Linked DNA regions of Homo sapiens: regions 1, 2 and 3 are each linked to region 4. The links are contacts of gene promoters, found by promoter capture Hi-C in blood cells and fetal thymus (Javierre and others, 2016). All regions are on one chromosome and are shown on one strand. Each heading gives the region's core, a stretch centred on a gene start or on the middle of the fragment in contact. The rest is flanking DNA. Distances are from core to core; before and after follow the strand shown.

Region 1 (4,804 bases), core at 294-2,793, 1.2 Mb before region 4:
CAATAGCCCTCTAAAGCTTGTAATTTTATTCAGAATATTGAGCCTGAATTTATCTTGTTCATGTGTTTCTTTGGCTAGCATCTTTCTTCAAAATAGTTTTCTTTTCTTTCTTTTTTTTTTTTTTTTTGGATGGAGTCCTGCTCTGTCACCCAGGCTGGAGTGCAGTGGTGTGATCTCGGCTCACTGCAACCTCCACCTCCCAGGTTCAATTCTCCTGCCTCAGCCTCCTGAGTAGCTGGGATTACAGGCACGTGCCACCACGCCTGGCTAAATTATTTATTCATTTGTTTGTTTGTTTATTTATTTATTTTGTATTTTTAGATGGGGTTTCACCATGTTGGCCAGGCTGGTCTAGAACTCCTGATCTCAGGTGATCCGCCCACCTTGGCCTCCCAAAGTGCTGGGATAACAGGCATGAGCCACTGTGCCTGGCCCAAAATAGGTTTTTATTTCAGTGAGCCACACATCTTTAGTGTGTTTGCGCACATCCAATATACTGTCCTCTAGTGAGTAGATTCAAAGATCAGCTAATAAGATACTAGTTATCTTCTCATAACAAATCCCAGAACAAACTATCCAATAATATACTTTCAAAGCTGGAGTGAACCTTAGAAAGCATTATAATATCATCACTGCTGTCATTATCTCCTTAAGGGACTTTACAGTGGGCCTGGTTATTTTAATTTTTAACTGCCCTCCTTACAGTTTAGACTTTGAGGGGAATAAGAAAGGAGAAATAATCTACAGGAAGGAATGAGGCCACTGAGATTGAACTGTTTATTCTAAGTAAGAAAACTGGTTAAGATAAATGGTGGACTGGAATCCCGGTGCCCTCTCTCTATTTCACTACTATCTGCTCTCTACCAAGCTGCCCCTTCTTTCTCGTCCCACCATGATGCCCCTGCCATGTGAGGCTTCCCTCTGCTAGCATCCCAGTGTACCTTTAAAAATTAAACTATAGTGTGAATGATAAAACCACTGCAAAATTGTCTTTCATGCCTTGAGATGGTGTTTAAATCTGTTTAATTCTTCACAGGGGTTTTTTAATGGATATCCTGTTTTGAAAGTAATTATCAAGTTGAATAGAATATTGTTATTTCCAAAGCCATCCTAAAACTTATTTCTACTGTTCAAATAAGAAAATTATTTTAACTTAATTTTAACCACCTTTTGAACTTTATAGAGATTAGAAATACATGGACTCAAAAGACATTTAAAAGAGGAGCTATTTGTATTCTAAAAATCTATATATGCATACTTTAATATGATTGATAATCTATTGATTTATTTAAGGACATGAGTACCTAGGTGTGAAATATTTAATTTTAGTCCTTAGTAATAATTCTTAAATACTTTATCTCTCAGGTTTCTCGTATGTAAAGCCATCTCTCAGGGTTTTTGTTTTTGCTTTTGTTTTTGTTTTGAAGCTTAACAAAAACAAGGTTTTTGAGTACCCGGACCCCTTCATGGTACAGCGTAGAAAATGAATAAACGATAGTTTCCTGCCATCCATTAATCCCATCATCAGCAAAACTTTATTCTAAAATTCAAAGAAATTTTTAATAAGCACATTTGCTGTAATGTTCAAGATACTTTGGTAAAAGCAAATTATAAAATATACTTGTATGTTATAGCTGCATTTAACTATGAATGCTGCTAAGAAGCTTTTGATTTTAATTCTATTCAAGGATCAAAAGTGCTGTGCATAAATTTAAGTGTATGATTTTATGGGTTCATGGATTTTCCTTTCCATTGTCGCTTCTTTACAACAGTGTTAATTAATAAAAAGAGATATGATCTTTTTTATGCATTCTCCAGCATTTACTATACTCATCTGTTTATAAAAATGGTTTCCCCTTTCCATTTTCTTTTTTAAATAATTATAGAAGTTTGTGCAAATCTTAATTGTCTAAATGACTTTATGAATTTCTGTTTAGTCACATAAATCTTCATGAAACTTTGTATCATCTATTACAGATATCAGATAATTCCAAGGCATCAGATTTGTAAATAATTATCAATAAAAATTTTGAAAACATTTCCCAAGCTTTCCATTCTAGCATTTAGAAGATCAACCAGAAGACAAAAAGTCAGAAAGTCAGAACATAATGTACAACTGTCTTTACTTTTCAAATGGAACTTTAAAAACTCCAGAAAAGCCTACATGGCATAAATCATTTTTGAAACAGATTATTTTCCTGTTTTATTTTTCCTCTCACTGTATCAGCCCATCAAGGATGTTTGAAGTATTTTTAACCCTGAACTCTGCAATCTAGTGATCGAGCAAATTATTGGCAAAAAGAGCTGCCTGTGCATGCCATTGTGGAGTTCAGCTCATTCATTCATGCTATCCCCAAAATGTTTACTCTTATGAAAAAGGAAATAAAGTAGTGCTAAAGGTTAACTTTTTATTCACAATATAAAGCCTTAAATCTTAATCCAGGTAAATGTATGTGCCTATTCTAGAGAGGATGACCATATGTCCAGATTTGTACCTGTTGTCCCAGAGTAATTATGATTAGTGGCCTTTTTGTCTTCCAAATTGTCCTAGGTTTAATGATAGATTTAAAAGTCACCTTAATTTTTGGTAATGAGCCTAATTACAAATAGCATGTATATTAATTGGTATAAGGATATGAACTTTTGGCTGAGTATGGTGGCTCACCTATAATCCCAGCACTTTGGGAGGCTAAGGTGGGAGGATCACTTGAGCCCAGGAGTTCGAGACAAGCCTGGGAAACATAGGGAGACCCCATCTCTACAAGAAACTTACAAATTAGCTGGGTGTGGTGGCATACACTAGTAGTCCAAGCTTTCGGGAGGCTGAGGCCAGAGGATGACTTGAGTCCAAGAATTTGAGGCTGCAGTGAGCTATGATTGCACCACTGCACTCCAGCATTGGTGAAAGTGAGGCTCTGTCCCCTCCAAAAAGAAAAGAAATGAAGTTTTCTATTCCAAGAGGATAATGACCGGAAGTGAGAGTATGTCATAGTTATATTCAAAATAAGGTTGATGAATTTTTATTTTTATCTACAACTGAATAATAATTCTAAAATTTATCGAAGTTGAACATTTCTTTTTACATAAACCACATATTCTCTGGTGTCCTTGACAATTTTTCAGTGTAAAACATTTAATAAAAGCAAAACAAGGGGAATATCAAAATTATCTGTAATCCCACTTTCTAGAGAGGATAGTTTGCCATTTTTCTGTATAACTAGATACATATCTTTTTGGCAAAATTGGGATTGTACTATTTATACAGTTTTGCATTTTGCTCTTTTTCATTTGTCATCATATCATGACTATTTCACTGATTAACTATTCTCCAAAATATACTGTTCATTGCTGACACATAATGTTCCAGAGTAGGTACATGTTGCTGTTTATATAGCCATTGCCTTAATACTGCACATTTACAGTTCTGCCAATGCTTTCCTATTATATGACTAAATGTATCTGCATTTGCCTGTACAAAACATTAATTAGATGAAATATTTACCTAAATTTACTTGACTGAAAAGTAAGACAAAGTATGCAATATACTTTTAAACCCATTTATTTCAAGATGAAATCATAGATTGCTTTTTCTTTCTTCCAGTGGTTAAACTTTAAAAATTGTTCATGTTTCCCCTGCATTTTTATTTGGCTTATTTGAAAATATACAGAGAATGACCTAGCAGATTTCTCTACTTGGATGTCCCAAAGATATTTCAGTCTCAGATGCCCAAAACTGAAATAGCATTCTTCCAAATCTCTTCCTACCTTGTGTGCCCTGGTAAATGGCATCTTCATTTATCTGACTTCCCAAGCTGGACCTGGCTCATGCAGCCCGCCCTGGTTTTCCTAATAGTTATCTGCCCTTTCTTGGTGCTCTTGTTTGGGCCCTTGTCATTTCTTGCCAGGACCATTGCAAAAGCTTACCGAACTCTCTACCTCTACTCTGAAATGTTTCCTGTTTATTGTCCTCAAAACCAATAAAATGATATTTCTGAAACATAATTCTTAGAATCAAATAAACGGGTTTAGAATTGTCAGTGACTCTTCATTCCCTACAAAGTAAAATCTAAGGTCCTTTAAAAGGTGAATAAGACCCTTCATGACACAGTTCCTTTCTCTCCATCCAACTTCATCTTCTGCCCTTCTGTCGTCTAAGTAACAACACTGACCTTGCAATTCCACAAACTTTCCAAATCCTCTCCTACATTTTTGCTTTTCTTTCTTTCAAGAATTTCCTCCTTCCCTCTCTAAACCTGTAAAATTCCTACTTATCCTGCAAGTGTGAATCAAATGACAGCTCCTCAGAAAGATCTTGATGCTTCTTCTCTGACATTCTTAACACCATAGTGTATATATATCGCTATTATAATATTTATTGCCTTTTATTAAATTAACTTGTACCTCTATCTTGATGTAAGGGACCAATGCTTAGCAAAGTGCATGGCACATAGTAGATAATCAATAAATGCATGCTAAGAGAATGAATGAATGAAGTAGACTTGAGAAGAAGCTGAGAATTCAGCTGGGCTCAGCTTCTCAGTGAATAGTTTGAATGTATTCGGCAATGTTAAACTCACTGCTTTTGGAAGCCACTCTTGGATTTTGAATTGTCATAGATAAGTGCTGTCTTATAGAAATATAAAGTAAAATAAGTCATTTTTAATTATCTAATAACCATGTTTATAAAGGTAAAAAGACACAGGTGAAATTAATTTTAATAATATATTTTATTTAATTCAACATACTCAAAATAATATTTCAAAATGTAAATCAATATTTAAAAATATTAATAGGATATTTTGCA
Region 2 (4,656 bases), core at 1,887-4,386, 1.2 Mb before region 4:
TCAAAAAATAAATACTCCTATCACTCAGGAAATTCCAGGGGTTTTAGGAGCTCTATTACAAGGGCAAAAAAACAATATACAGTATTTCAAATTATCCTGCAGGAGACGATTGAACTCAGTAAAAGCCATGGAGAAGATGGGATTGATATGAAAGATTCTGCAAAGGCCGAATCTATAGAATATAATGAGTGACTAGCAGGAGGGTAGGAAAGAGAAAAAACTCAAGATAGTTTTACATTTTTGAGTCTAGGTGACTGGGAGAATAGAGGAGAATGCGGAGTCTGTAATAGAAAACAATATTTAAAACAATCTCTTAAGAACAAATTTTTGATGCCCTGGTTTTGGTCTACTAATTTTCATAATTTATCACCAGAAAAAAAATTTACATCTGGGCTATATAACTCATGAGTATGTTATTATTAAAAGATGATAGAGATAGCCATGAAGAACCACTAGTAAATCTGTGAATCTTGGTTTCTTGGTGCTACTATATTTAAGGATAAGTGTATTTGTTAAATGTTCTGCATTTTTGTTAGTGGTACCGTTAGAACTATAATCACCTGGAGAGTCCCTCCTGCCCATAGCACAGATAAAACCAGTTCACTGAGATCATGCAATTGGAGTAGAGAAAGAGTTTTATTGACTCCAGCCTGGCCACACAGAAGAACTGGAGTTCTTCTCCCAGTCTTCAGTCTTGTCTTCAGTCTCCCCAGAGGCTCAAAGGCTAGGGGTTTTATGGACAATTTGGTAGGCAGGGGGCTAGGGGAAGGGTGCTGCTGACTGGTTGAAGATAAAATTATAGGGGTGTGGAAAATGGTCCCTGTGCACTGAGCTTATCTCTGGGTGGGGCTACAGGACCAGTTGAGTCATGAGTCATAAGTCCAGGTGGGGTCAGTCTGAAAAACATCTTTTAAAAAACACTTAGATTCTACAATAATGATGTTATATATAGTAGCAATTGGGGAAGTTACAAATCTTGTGACTTCCTGAGAAGTCAGGGATTATAGAAACTGTGCCTTCATTTTAGCAGAACTCTGGCCTCTCCTATAGTACTAATCTTGTGACCTTTCATTAGTCTTAAAAACAGCCCACGAACAGGGAAGGGATTAGTTGTAGGGAGAAACTATTATGATCCTTGCTTCAAAGTTAAACTATAAACTGAATTCTTCCCAAAGTTAGTGTGGTCTACACCCAGGAAGGATCAAGGATAGTGTGGAGGTCAGAAGCAAGATGGAGTCAACTATGTCAGATTTCTCTTACTGTCATAATTTTGCAAAGGTGGTTTTAGAACTGAAATTAAAATTGATACCTGGAGGTAAAGTGTTTCTATTAAAAAAAAAACCTAAAATATATGTAATTGGCTTTAGGACTAGTAGCTAGCATAGGGCAGAAAGCCCTCAAAAATTATAAATGGAGGCTGGACAGACTGTAAGGACATTGTTATTGAAGACTGAAGAAAAGATTACCCATGTTATGTAGTCGTAAAACATTTGGCAACATTTTTGCTTGCAATAGTATGGAAGATGGCTTGTAGATATAACTAAGAACATTTTCAGATGGCATTTTTTGAAAGTGCCAAGTGTTGTTTTTTAATTGTGTGTGATAAGAAAAAAAATAGATGAACTGAAGAAAAAGTTGTTCTGTTTTCAAGTAGCATATAGAGGAAACATTTCCAATCCCAGAATCACTGGTTTGGAAAATAAATTTTTTTGTCATTCTCAAACTCCCAGGTCACAAAATATACTCAAAGTAAATTGAAACCTAGAGGCAATGCCAGGGCACTGCCAGGAAAACACCACCTCACAGCCAAGATTAGTGCAGGGGTGTGGTTGTAAGATTCTGTGTTGAGATCTCAGAAAAATGTAATGGAGTACCTTTTAGATGCTCCCAGCCAGACAAAAGAACTTCTAAGAATCTTAAGATCAAGTCTCATAGACTCTCTCAGTTAAAAAAGTGGGCCTCCAAGAATCTTTTATTTATTTTATTATTATTTTTTAAATTTTTTTGAGACAGGATCTCACTCTCTCACCCAGGCTGGAGTGCAATGGTGCTATCTCAGCTCACTTCAACCTCCACCTCCCAGTGTCAAGTGATTCTCGTGCCTCAGCCTCCCCAGTAGTCGGGACTATAGGCATGCACCAGCACACCTGACTAATTTTTGTATTTTTGGTAGAGACAGAGTTTCATCATATTGGCCAGGCTAGTCTCAAACTCCTGGCCTCAAGTGGTCTGCCTGCTTTGGCCTCCCAAAGTGCTAGGGTTACAGGCATGAGACACCACGCCCAGCCCCATAAAGGCATTATTCTTATACTCTGTTTATCACATACACAAAAAAGAGCTTCTAAGAATTTTTAAGATGTCCCATAGCCCAAGGTAGAGATAGGCCTGCTTGAAATTTGTAGGTGTTTTTTTCTAATAGAGATTGTAATTTGATACATGGAAAACCCACATCATTTTTTAAAGAATTGTAAAAGCTTGGACCAAATAGTACAAAGACAATTTAAAATTAAAAAGCATCTGGGCCCCCAAGCTCCTATGGGTAGAAAGCAGGCTGAAAAAGCTACACAACTCTAAATGGTAGTTATTTCTATGGAAAAGGAGATATGATTCAGAGGGCAAAATAAAGAGTCCAAAGACTAAGTACATCCAAGAACCACAGAATTCACTCCCAGGGAGTAGAACTGCCCTAATCAAAGAATATTCCCCAATCCCTGAAATCAGAATAAATGACAACTTATGCATAGCTGGATTTCAGAGTTGCTATGAAATGGTGACTTCTATGGACTTCCTACTTTATCCCTTTTTAAACAATTATAGTTGTACCATCCTATATTAACATTTTAAGTTAGGAACATGGATGACAGATAATTTATCTGTTAGTTTATGGTTCTTGGTACCCAAGGAACTGCACCTGAGGAGCCCCATCTATACTGTACCTGATTTAATGACAATGGCTAGACTTTGAGCTCTGTCATGATGGAATAAGGCTTTTGGGATTTTAGGGAATGGTGAGGATATTTTGCATATTGTAGAAACATTAACTGTTGAAGCCAGGGGACAAATTCTGGTAGCTAATCTCCAAAGATAGCCTTCAATATTTTTTTTCTTCTTGGGTGCTTAGGCCATTTCCTAAATTATTTCCTTTTCTTGAATCTGTGCTAAACTGGTGCCTGGTTTTGACCAACAGAATACAGCAGAAATGACATTCCTATGCTTCCAAGCCCAGGCCTTAAGAACACTGACAGTTTCCACTTTGAACCTTTTAGAATTTAGCTCCCTTGCTACAGGAATCCTAAAACATATAGAGAGGCCATGCAGAGGAACCAAGACACCCTAACGCCTCAGCTGAGTTCCCAGCAAGAGCCAGCACCAACTGCCAGCTATGTGAGTGAGCCGACTTGTACTGTAGCATAGCCAGTATCCTGATGACCACAGTCTTAGCCAACAGCACATGGAACAGAAAAACCACTTTGCTGCATACATTCAAACACCCAGCTGAGCCCACTTAACCAACAAAATCACACAGATAATAAAATTGTAGTTTGAGGCTGTTAAGATTTTAAGTGATTTATTATGTAGCAATAGGTAAATAAAACAGGAATTTTTATTCTGATATTGGATCTTCAGTATAGAATAGATTTGTAAAATTCAAAGATACTTCCTGAAATATGTATTTATTTTTTCTTATGAAAAACCTATGCAAAGTAAAGTCTTAATTAGAAAAATTGGTATACAAAGAAAAATACAATAAACTTGTGAACTGCATCTCTTTAACTTGTTTTCTAATCAAAATATATAAAAGCTTTCTTTAAGTCAGCTTATAAATGATTTATTACATTTCAGTTATCTGGTGTTTGCACTGTGATAGAAATAACATTTTATTCTCCCGAGGAAATTTTATTTTTAGAGAACTGCTAAGTTGCTACAAATCTTTAAAGTGCTTTTTAGCCATAGTTTACCTATTTTCATTGTTCTGGGAATGTGTTGTAATTCTTGATTTATGAACTAGAAGACTAGATAGAGTATTGAAATACCAATGCCATAAGACGTGATGTGCAAATTTATAATTTAAATTCCAAATCTGTGATACCTTATTTCTTCATCTTTTTCAGTTTTTCATATTCCCTGAAAAAAGAACCAAAGGGCCACCTATCTTGTTACTCTTGAAGCATAATATTCTTTGACAGTCTGTACACTAAATCACATTGGAAATGCACTGGGAGAATGAGATTCAATTCTTCTTGGCCTCTTCTCTGTTACCACCCACTATACATACAAGAGGTTTTGACCTAACCCTATCAGGAAATTGGTTGCTTTAGAATTTGAAGAGGCAGGGAAAACAGACACATGACCTGACACTAGGCCAGAACTTATAAGCATCTATTTCCAGGATGACTCAGACCCGGCTTCAGAAAGCAGGACGATCGACTGAAAAATACAATGAGCAGAAGCCAGAGGGAAAGAAACTTTGACTCTAATCCAAAAAATAAATTCACAGATCTAAATCCAATAGTCAGTGCCCATGTTACCCTATCAGAAACATTTCCAAAGCTGATCACTCCTTCCTCCTGAAGCACTTCCTTCACTTGGAGTCCATCACAAGTGTCTCTGGTTTTTTTTTCTCCCTGACTGGTCACTGTTGTTCTCAGTCTGAAG
Region 3 (5,169 bases), core at 1,465-3,964, 1.2 Mb after region 4:
GTTGATGGTGTGGGAGGCTGTGCGTTTGCAGGGGCTGAGGGCGTTTGGGAACTCTCTGTACCTTCTGCTCAATTTTGCTTTGAACCTTAACTGTTCTAAAAAATAGGCTTTTTTGTTAGATTTACAAATTAGTCTTTGTGCATCTCAGGCCCCCTTGTATCTCCAGCATCACACCCGTAGGCACGCGTGTGCAGGCACCCTCATAATCTCAATCACAGGGTGCTGAGCCTGCTTCCCTCTCAGATTTGCTCTCCCCTCAGGCAATTGGGAAGGGATGATGCACTTTGAGTTTAAGGATCAGAATAATTCACTATCAAAGCATCCAAATTTTATACCAGAAGTGTAGTCTGGGGAGGCCAGAGAAGAGATGCAGCTGAAAAAGAATCACATGACTGGAGAGGGGCAGACCCAGCTGAAATCCATGCCTCCTTATTCCTGCCACCCCACACACCACACTGCAGCCTGGTGGCATCTGGTATTTAGTCTTGGGTCTAGGGCAAATACGAGTGCCAGCGGAATTAGTCATATAAGCTGTTTGAAGGTGAGGGGCTTCAGTAAATTATGCCTATTTGGAGTTAATGCAGTACTGATTCCAGCAGATAGCAATGAAGGACTTCCTAATTCCTACACAAGGTTGAGAAACCCAGTATAAGCTCTTAAATCATAAAATGGTTTTTGTTCTGATCTAATATAAATAGTTTTGTTCTGATCTAACTTTTTTACAGTATCATTGTTCAGGTACAAGAAAAAAAATAAGGCCCTGGTCCTTCCCTTCTGAATGACATTTTTCCCTCTTTGACAATAAAAGATCTGAAATTCAAGTTTATTAATTCATTTGACAAAAATGTGTTCTGCTCTTGTCTGAGCAGGCTCAGAGGAGGCTGCTGTGGGAGGATATTGAGGACAACAGGACATGATGTCCCATCAGATAAAAACTGAAGAGTCTGGTTTATCCATGCAGATACATTCAAAAACAGTTCAACAACCAGATTTTCAAGATAATGGGTTTTTAACAAGACTTGCTTACTTTTGACTCTAAATCTGAAGACTTAACAAAATCATGAAGGTGACTGGATTATGCAATTCTCAGATCTGGCTGAGTTTTTTCAAAACCCTCATCCAGATATTTTGAATTACTAGACCAAAATAGGGGCTGAGATATATCTAGTTTTAATCTCCCCAGTGAATTTCATAAATGTGCTGTCAGGTTTGGGATCTTCTGATGATCTTTGATGTCTCTTCCAATACCAAGGGCCCTTGCTACTGTGAAACACCTTCCAGGGCAACAGAACCAACTCGTACTGGGCCGCTTATCTGCTCAGCTGAAGCCAGAGCGGAGAGTCATGAGAGTCATGAAAGCAGTATATTTGAAAATAAACATGGGCTTTTTATTCTGCACATAGATCTTGAAATGTATAATGTATACACATGTGTATACAAACATTAGTAATATATATCAACCAAAGGTGGTAATCAATATGAAGATTAGAAAATGCTATCGATGCCATTTCCAAAAGTGATCCACTATTTCAGTCTTTCAGAAACCAACATATGGAGCAAATTAATTTTTGAGGAAACACCAACATTTATCATTATCAAACAGAAATCAACATGACACATAATATTGTTCATCTGTTTCACTTGTAAGCCATGAGAACACTGAGAATTGGCATATATTCCATTTTCAGAGAGCCAATTTAAGTCCCAACCAGACAGCACAAAGCTCTGTAACTTACATGGAAATATTTATTAAAACAGTCAAGGGTAACACGCTTAAGGATGAAAGTAACCCTACAGATGATACCTTCTTGTCATCTGCTCATAGCCATATTCCCCTGGATCTGTGCTTGTCAATTCAAGATTGCTAAGTTCCAATAAGTTATTTGTTTGTTTTGATGGAAATACCTGGGATTCTTTTGATAGGGAGCTTGGGACTGTTTGTTTCAGAAATAAAAATAATAATGTACTACTATTAATTATTAGTAGATTTCTTTTTACATGTAAATCCTCAAAGAATCCACTTCAGGAATATGCTGTATTTATGTAGATTTTAGGGTAATAGTCTTCAGCTCTGATGTTCTCCTTCCAGTTCTTGTACCCATCTCTATCAGTACCATCAGTACCATTCTCTTTTTTTTCTTTTCTTTTTTTTTTTTTTTGAGACGGAGTCTCACTCTGTCACCCAGGCTGGAGTGCAGTGGCGTCATCTCAGCTCACTGCAACCTCCCCCTCCTGGGTTCAAGTGATTCTCCTGCCTCAGCCTCCCAAGTAGCTGGGACTACAGGCCTGCCACCACGCCCAGCTAATTTTTGTATTTTTAGTAGAGACAGGGTTTGACCATATTGGCCAGGCTAGTCTCGAACTCCTAACCTTGCGATCTGCCTGCCTCAGCCTCCCAAAGTGTTGGGATTACAGGCATGAGCCACCGCACCTGGCCAGTACCATTCTGTTGATATTTGCTCTATATTCTTAATTTGTGATAATTTATTTATTTTTGTTTTGTTGTTTTATGTGAGGCATTTCCTGGTAGACAACTGTTCACAGGCTGTGTCCTCTCCCCAGATTAAACAAAAGGGACTGTTAGATACAGAATCTTAGTTGAGATTGATGCTCAAAGATCTGAGGTGCCTTCCCTTAGGGGAAGGAGATATGAGAAATACATAGAGTCCATTTTGTCTGGGAACCCACCAACTGAGCATTTACCCGGCCCCTGAATTTATAACTGAGATAGGAGTATTTAGTCAATTTCATAGTCAGTGGTTATAATGTCAACATTGCGTCCTTGGCATGTGGAGTAAGGGGTGTCATGGTGGGGAAGGTCAGATTGAAGCCTCTGAAACTGCTCCCCTCAAATTAAAAAACGTTACATCATATACTAAGGGCAGAGGGATGGCAAAAGTCAATGCTACCCTTAAGGATCTAAAGGATTCAGGGGTGGTAGTCTTTGTGTTATCTTCATTTAATTTTCCAGTGTGGTCCCTGAAGAAACCAGATGGATTCTAGAATAGACTATTGAAAACACAATCATGTAGTAGCCCCAGTTGCATCTGCTGTGCCAGGCATGGTGTTTTTCTAGAGCAGATTAATACAGCCTCAGGTACAAAGGTATGCAGCCACTGACTTGTAAAATATGTTTTTTTTTTCTATTCTAGTCAGAAAAGTGTGTCAAAAATAGTTTGCAGTCACATGAAACAGGCAGCACTATACTTTTACAATTTGCCCCAGAGCTGCGTTAACTCCCGTGTTTCTGGCTGGAATATATTACAAAGACATCTGGACCACCTGGACATCCAACAGAGAATCACAGTGACGCATTGCATACATGTCATTATGCTAATTTATCCGGATGAGTAAGAAGTCTAGCAGGCTGGAGGTCTTAGTAAGACTCATGCACTAAAGAGAGTTGAAGATAAGACTTATGAAGATTCAAAGGGCTACATCAGAAAACATTTGGGGGTCCAGTGGTGAGGGGCATGCCAGTAGATCTTCAAATAAAAGACAAGTTATTGCATCTCACACCTTCTATCCTGAAGTAAGGAGCTCAATGCCCTAAAGTTCTGAATGTGGAATATTCCACACCTGAAAATACTCCTCTAGCCTATCTACCAGGTGACACAAAAGGCTGCTGAACTTGAGTGAGGCCAGGGGAAGAAGAAAGCTCTGCAAGAGCTCCAGGCTGTGGCGGTGCAAGTAGCCCTGACACTTGGGCCTTCAGCCAGAAATCCTTATAGTGTTCAAGATTCTAGTAGCGAGAAAGATGCTATGTGTAATGTGTGGTAAGCTCCAGTGAAGAATGACAGTAAAGCACTGAGGGTCTGGAGCTGGGCCGGGCCATATGCAGTGAATTATTAGACACCTTTTGAAAAACAACTCCTGCTTTGTTCTTGAACTCCAGAAGAGAAGTATTTCTTGGCCATGGGACACCAAGCACCCATGCATCCAAAACGTATCAGCATGAACTTGATCCTATCAGACCTACCAAATCATAATGTCCAGTGCGCCCAGCAGCAATTCATCAAAAGATAAAAATAAACAAGATCAGAGGGCCATTAAAAGTGAACAAGGCTGGGCGCAGTGGCTCATGCCTATAATCTCAACACTTTGGGAGGCCGAGGTGGGAGGATCACTTGAGGTCAGGAGTTCAAGACCAATTTGGCCAATATGGTGAAACCCCATCTCTACTAAAAATACAAAAATTAGCTGGGCATGATGGCACATGCCTGTAGTCCCAGCTACTTGGGAGGCTGAGGCAGGAGAATCACTTGAACCTGGGAGGCGGAGGCTGCAGTGAGCTGAAATGGCACCACAGCACTCCAGCCTGGGTGACAGAGCAAGACTCTGGCTCAAAAAAATAAAGGAAAGGAAATGAACAAGATCAGAGGCCCTAAGCAGGTGCTTGAACAGGTAGCTCAGACACCCTTGTCAAGCACCATGCCATTTCAGCTCAAACCTACAGCCATGTGGGTAATCACTTAGGTGCAGCTGACAGTAGGTTGGTTCAGTAGGTGGTACAAGATGAAAGTGGATAGTAGCTCTGTTGTAGCCTCACTCATATAAGTCCTCGAAAGAACAGTTTCAGATATTCTGGATGTCATCAGAACCAGAAAATAATCTGGCCCATGGAAGTTCGACACTGGCCACACCTGACCCACATTGAAATGATTTATTTTTCAAGTGACTGAGAACCACAATCATTGTCACAGGTGTTCATTATCCAGCAGATGCTATCTTTTTTATATTAACTGGCAACCTGGAAGCCAGGCAGCTGAGCTACCCTCAAGCTAATAGCAATTGATGTTTTTCAGAATCCCAAATCTCTTCAGTTTCTAATATTATCATCTTTATCTGCTGAGGGTATAAGGCTTTTATGTTGGTTCACTGCCCATCAAAAACAAAATGAGTTTTGCCAGAAGCCCACAGGCAGCCTAGGATGCACACACATCCCTAGCAATTCACAGGAACAAATGCAAAGCCTCTTCCCATGTTAATTACATTAAGATGAAGAAGATCTAGCTGCCACTTAAAACAAGAAACTCAAAAAGGAACCTGAAAAGTGGTAAACAAAGAGACTTTATTCGTTTTGTAAAACGTATTCAGAAAAGGAATTACATTTTAGATAGAAGAAAATAAATGCATAGTCATTTCAATTACACCATTTTTAGGAAACCA
Region 4 (4,859 bases), core at 1,656-4,155:
ATTTCTTTGAAACTGGGATGTGTCTTACTATCAAATAAACATCCAGTGGCCAGGTGATAGTGATGATATAGTTGGCATTGCCTATTTTTGAACATGGGCATAAATGAATTGTTATCATTTCTACTAAATTCTATGAAATTTAGTCCTGTTGTGTCAAAGCCATATGCCAAGAAACATAGTTGAAGGCAGGAGAAATTACCAGATATGACAGATTAGGTGAAAGAAATTCTAAAGCAAAGAGAGGTTGATATAACCAATTCATGTATCATGCAGGACTATGGTTAAGGCATGAAACTACCATTTGTGAGAAACTTTCTCCTGGCCATTAATAGAGAAGCTGCATAGCTTGTAGTGACATACAATTCAGTTGAACAAGAAAACTATGTGTTTAGTCAAATGGGATAGTGCCAGCATCACAACTGCAGAATGAGTGTCATTGTCTAGGAGGCAAATCCCAGAAACAAGATTGGAACATCCTTTTAAGAAATGGTGCACTATCAACAATATTGTGTGGAAAAACACACATGAATGCTTTTCATGAAAAGGTATTCAGAAGAATCAGGCTCAATGTTCGGGACTTTGGTAAATTCATTTTGCTTATATTTTCCTTTCCTACATACACACAGTACTAAGCAAATCTATGTATAAGTGTCTAAAAGCACTAAGTATAAAGTAAAAATTCGATATGACATAACATATTGTCATAGTTTTATTAGCAGCTCTTTTCCTTTCTTTTGAGTGGAACATATAATTGAAGATAGGTTAGATTTGAATAGATAACAATAAATTGAATAGGCACTAGGTCTGTGAGTTTGTAAACTTCCCTCAGTGAAGGACCAGAGCTTGGTGTTTTGTTGTTGTTTTGGTAGGTATTTTGTTGTCTGTTGGAAATGAGGTAAGAAGATCCTATGAAGTCGTCACAAATATTGGTTATACTTGTTTGTAGAAGCAACATAATTTCAAGAAAAGCCACCTTCTCACATCACCTTTTACAGCTTCTTAACATAGGTCACAGGTTGCATTTTGAATTAGGTGAATACTCCATTTGTCAGTCGGTAACCACTTCTGAAATTAATTTATTATATTTCCCCAATATAACAGCAATACATGTTGGTATAGAAAACACCTTATATTAAAAAAAAAGTCTATGTACCTACATGTGAGTATGTAATCAGCCATGTCTTCCACCCAATGTGGAAAATTTCTTTCTTAAAAATTTTCTTAGGCCAGGAGCGGTGGCTCACACCTGCAATTCCCAGCACTTTGGGAGGCCAAGGTGGGTGGATCACCTGAAATTGGGAGTTCGAGACCACCCTGACCAACATGGAGAAACCCTGTCTCTACTAAAAATACAAAATTAGCCGCGCGTGGTGGTACATGCCTGTAATCCCAGCTACTCGGGAGGCTGAGGCAGGAGAATTGCTTGAACCCTGAAGGCGGAGGTTGCGGTGAGCCGAGATCGCATCATTGGACTCCAGCCTGGGCAACAAGAGCAAAACTCCGTCTAAAAAAAAAAAAGTTTCTTATACATTTTTCGATGCCGTTTCTTTTTTTCTTTGTTTATGAAAATGTCTCAGATCAAAGTAATATATCTTCATTGTCCAGGATATTTCGTTAAGTATAGAAAAATATAAAGCAGCATGAAACATACTATCCTTCATCTCACCACCCAGAGATCACATCTTAATATTTTTGGCCATTGCATTCAATCTAGGGCAAAAACAGGCAGCATAACTTGCACACAGTGGATGCTCACTGCATCCCTGCTGAATGCATGAATGCAGAAAGAGAACTTGGAGAAGGGCCCATTTGTCTTGCTAATAGAATCAATTATACAGCTCTTATGGTCTAAAATTATTTGTCTTCTCAAGTTTGCCTCATTATTGTCACACAGCAGGAGCCTGGCCAAGACACAGCCATCTTTCTACTATTTGACAACCAAGCACTTTGGAAGGAATGGTCACTGTTTTCACTTCATTCCTGTCATTCATTCTCTCACTCATTAAATAAATATTAAGTGCCCACCATGTGCCGGAAATACGGAGAAGAAAAAAAAACATGACCCCTGCCCTCATGCAAATTACTGTGTAAAGACAAAAGACAATAAACATAAACACATAAATATATATATATACAAAATTTTATAAGTGCAAAAATAGAAGAGAACAAGTGGCTGGGAAAATAAACGGGGCAATGGTATAATTAAGGAGGGGACAGGGAAGGCCTTTCTGACGCAGTGACAAGTCGGGTCAAGAAGGAACGAAAGGGAAGGTTATGAGGCTGTCAAACTTTGAGTGTGGCCAAAAAAATAATGAAGAAAGTGATGGAGGAAAGACTAGGCTGAAGAAGTAGGGCAGTAGTGAAGTGTCTTGTAAGCCATGCTAAGGATTTTGAGTTTTATTCTATGTACTGTTGGAAACCAATACTTTTTTTGTAGTGTAAATTGAGCTTATTTTTCACAGATAGGTTTCAAGATGCAAAGCATACAAGGACCAAAAATAATTATATGAAAACTCTCCCTCCCTCCGGTTTCCTAGCCACCCAGTTTCCCTCTTCAGAGCTGCCAGTCTTTCCTACGGAAAGACTCTAGGCACAAACAAGCCCATCTATCTGTTTATATTATAATGCATTTTCAGCACTGGGACGAGCCCATCTGATTTAAGACCACCTGAATGCTGAGAGGGCATGACTCTGCGTTAGAACTCTGCGCTACTGCCCACGCATCTCACAAAGTCTACTACGCCGCGCGTTCTCGGTTTCAACGCACCTCCAGGATTCAGGGCTTCCTAAGCTGCAATTCAGCAGGGCTCCCTTGCTTGTTCTCACTCTGTGCCCCCGGCAACGACCCCGCGCGCCTACACTCCCGTGCCGCCTCAGCTACTAGTCCGCAACTTCTAGCCCCAAAACGCTGGAGCTCAGAACCCAGCTCAGGTGCGCTCGTCGGTTTCCCAGGGAGACTGGGGCTGATTGTAGGCACGCGGGGGCGGGAAGACAGCTTCTTGCTTCTGGCTGCGATGGAGGCGGATCTGGGCGGGGCCGAAACGGGGGCGGGGCCAAGTGTGGGGGCGTAGTCAGGCGTGGGGGCGGGCCGGCGCCGGCGCCGCGGTCGGCGGCAGCGCTCTCCTAAGCTCTCGCGGCTGCGCTTCGGTCCCGGACCCGGGCCACCCACGGGGTAGTGGGTGCTCCTCGGCCCCGGACATTGCAAGCCCCAGAAGGTAAATTTGCGTGGGAGCCGCGCACCTGGAGCGCGAGGGTACCCATGATGAGGGCGGGAGGCTGGATGGCGACAGAAGGGAGCGTCCCGCGGCGAGTTTCCCAAGAAAGCTGAACTCGTCCCAAGTTTCTTGTGCCTCGGCTTGCACTCAGTGAATGGGTGGCGGGCTCATTTGCTGCGGGTGGTCTTTTGGCGCGGGAGGGACGCGGAGGTGATTGGATTAATCCGCCTGGGCGGCAGCCCAGATTTCTGCCGGGAACCGCGCACCGCAGTGGTGCAGTTTTTGCCCGAGAAAGGGCGGGTAAGTGCGGTGCAGTCGTGTCCTGCGCAGCAGCAGGGGGACCGCCGGTCTGGGAGCACGCGAGTCGGCCAGGCGTCCCCGGTTGTCCAGAGGCACAGTTTCCTAACTTCTTTCCTCTTTAGGCAAGACTAACTCGGTGTTGCTCCTCCCGGCGCTGACTTCGAGGCCCGGCTATGGACGGCGAGAGCGAGGTGGATTTTTCTAGCAACAGCATAACCCCTTTGTGGCGGAGGCGGTCGATTCCTCAGCCCCACCAGGTTCTGGGCCGGAGCAAGCCGAGGCCCCAGTCCTACCAGAGCCCCAACGGGTTACTAATTACGGATTTCCCGGTGGAGGACGGAGGGACGCTCCTCGCAGCGCAGATTCCCGCCCAGGTGCCCACCGCCTCGGACAGCAGGACGGTACATAGGAGCCCCCTGCTTCTGGGCGCCCAGCGGAGAGCGGTGGCCAATGGTGGGACGGCATCCCCGGAGTACAGGGCTGCCTCTCCTCGACTTCGACGGCCCAAGTCACCCAAGCTCCCCAAAGCGGTGCCTGGCGGCTCCCCGAAATCCCCAGCAAATGGCGCGGTGACCTTGCCTGCGCCGCCGCCGCCGCCGGTTCTGCGCCCCCCGCGGACTCCTAACGCGCCCGCCCCCTGCACCCCCGAGGAGGACCTTACTGGGTTGACTGCCAGCCCGGTGCCTTCGCCCACTGCAAATGGCCTTGCCGCTAATAACGACTCTCCTGGGTCAGGTTCGCAGTCCGGCCGGAAGGCAAAGGACCCCGAACGGGGGCTCTTTCCTGGGCCCCAGAAAAGTTCTTCGGAACAAAAACTCCCCCTCCAAAGGCTGCCCTCCCAGGAGAACGAGCTCCTCGAGAATCCTTCCGTGGTTTTGAGTACAAACAGCCCCGCCGCCCTCAAAGTGGGGAAGCAGCAGATCATTCCGAAGAGTCTGGCCTCGGAAATTAAAATAAGTAAATCCAACAATCAAAATGTGGAGCCCCACAAGAGACTCCTCAAGGTGCGCAGCATGGTGGAGGGCCTAGGAGGACCCCTGGGTCACGCAGGGGAGGAGAGTGAGGTCGATAACGACGTGGATAGCCCAGGGTCTCTGCGGAGAGGCTTGCGGTCCACGTCTTATCGCAGGGCAGTGGTCAGTGGCTTTGATTTTGACAGTCCTACCAGCTCGAAGAAGAAGAACAGAATGTCCCAGCCTGTTCTGAAAGTGGTGATGGAAGACAAGGAGAAGTTTTCCAGTCTGGGAAGGATAAAGGTAAAAGTGGGCAGGAGTGTGGCACGCCATTCACTAAGCGGAAAGTAAATGTGTTGGGAGTGGGGAGGAGGAGCGTAGAGGAAACCCG

The links. Contacts are between HindIII fragments. The CHiCAGO score rates a contact against its expected background, and 5 or more counts as called.
Region 1: a contact is called between a fragment that was not itself captured here and the fragment with the promoter of ARHGEF26-AS1 in region 4, in 1 of 17 cell types (naive CD8 T cells). The highest score is 7.6, in naive CD8 T cells.
Region 2: a fragment that was not itself captured here is called in contact with the fragment with the promoter of ARHGEF26-AS1 in region 4 in 1 of 17 cell types (total CD8 T cells); the score reaches 5.4 in total CD8 T cells.
Region 3: a fragment that was not itself captured here is called in contact with the fragment with the promoter of ARHGEF26-AS1 in region 4 in 1 of 17 cell types (neutrophils); the score reaches 6.2 in neutrophils.

Annotation. Positions count from the first base shown.
Region 1 is chr3:152,946,179-152,950,982 of GRCh38, forward strand. No RefSeq gene overlaps it. Among named protein-coding and RNA genes, the nearest start is that of P2RY1, 110 kb to the left of the region's middle. The HindIII fragment of the contact is 237 bases long and covers 1,426-1,662 here.
Region 2 is chr3:152,964,198-152,968,853 of GRCh38, forward strand. No RefSeq gene overlaps it. Among named protein-coding and RNA genes, the nearest start is that of P2RY1, 130 kb to the left of the region's middle. The HindIII fragment of the contact is 1,328 bases long and covers 2,473-3,800 here.
Region 3 is chr3:155,329,627-155,334,795 of GRCh38, forward strand. No RefSeq gene overlaps it. Among named protein-coding and RNA genes, the nearest start is that of STRIT1, 39 kb to the left of the region's middle. The HindIII fragment of the contact is 8,170 bases long and covers 1-5,169 here.
Region 4 is chr3:154,118,305-154,123,163 of GRCh38, forward strand. ARHGEF26-AS1 (ARHGEF26 antisense RNA 1) reads right to left here and starts at 2,906. Exons shown (of 4, transcript NR_037901.1): 1 at 2,768-2,906. ARHGEF26 (Rho guanine nucleotide exchange factor 26) reads left to right here and starts at 3,086. Exons shown (of 15, transcript NM_015595.4): 1 at 3,086-3,215; 2 at 3,638-4,771. The coding sequence starts at 3,689. The HindIII fragment of the contact is 6,897 bases long and covers 1-4,859 here.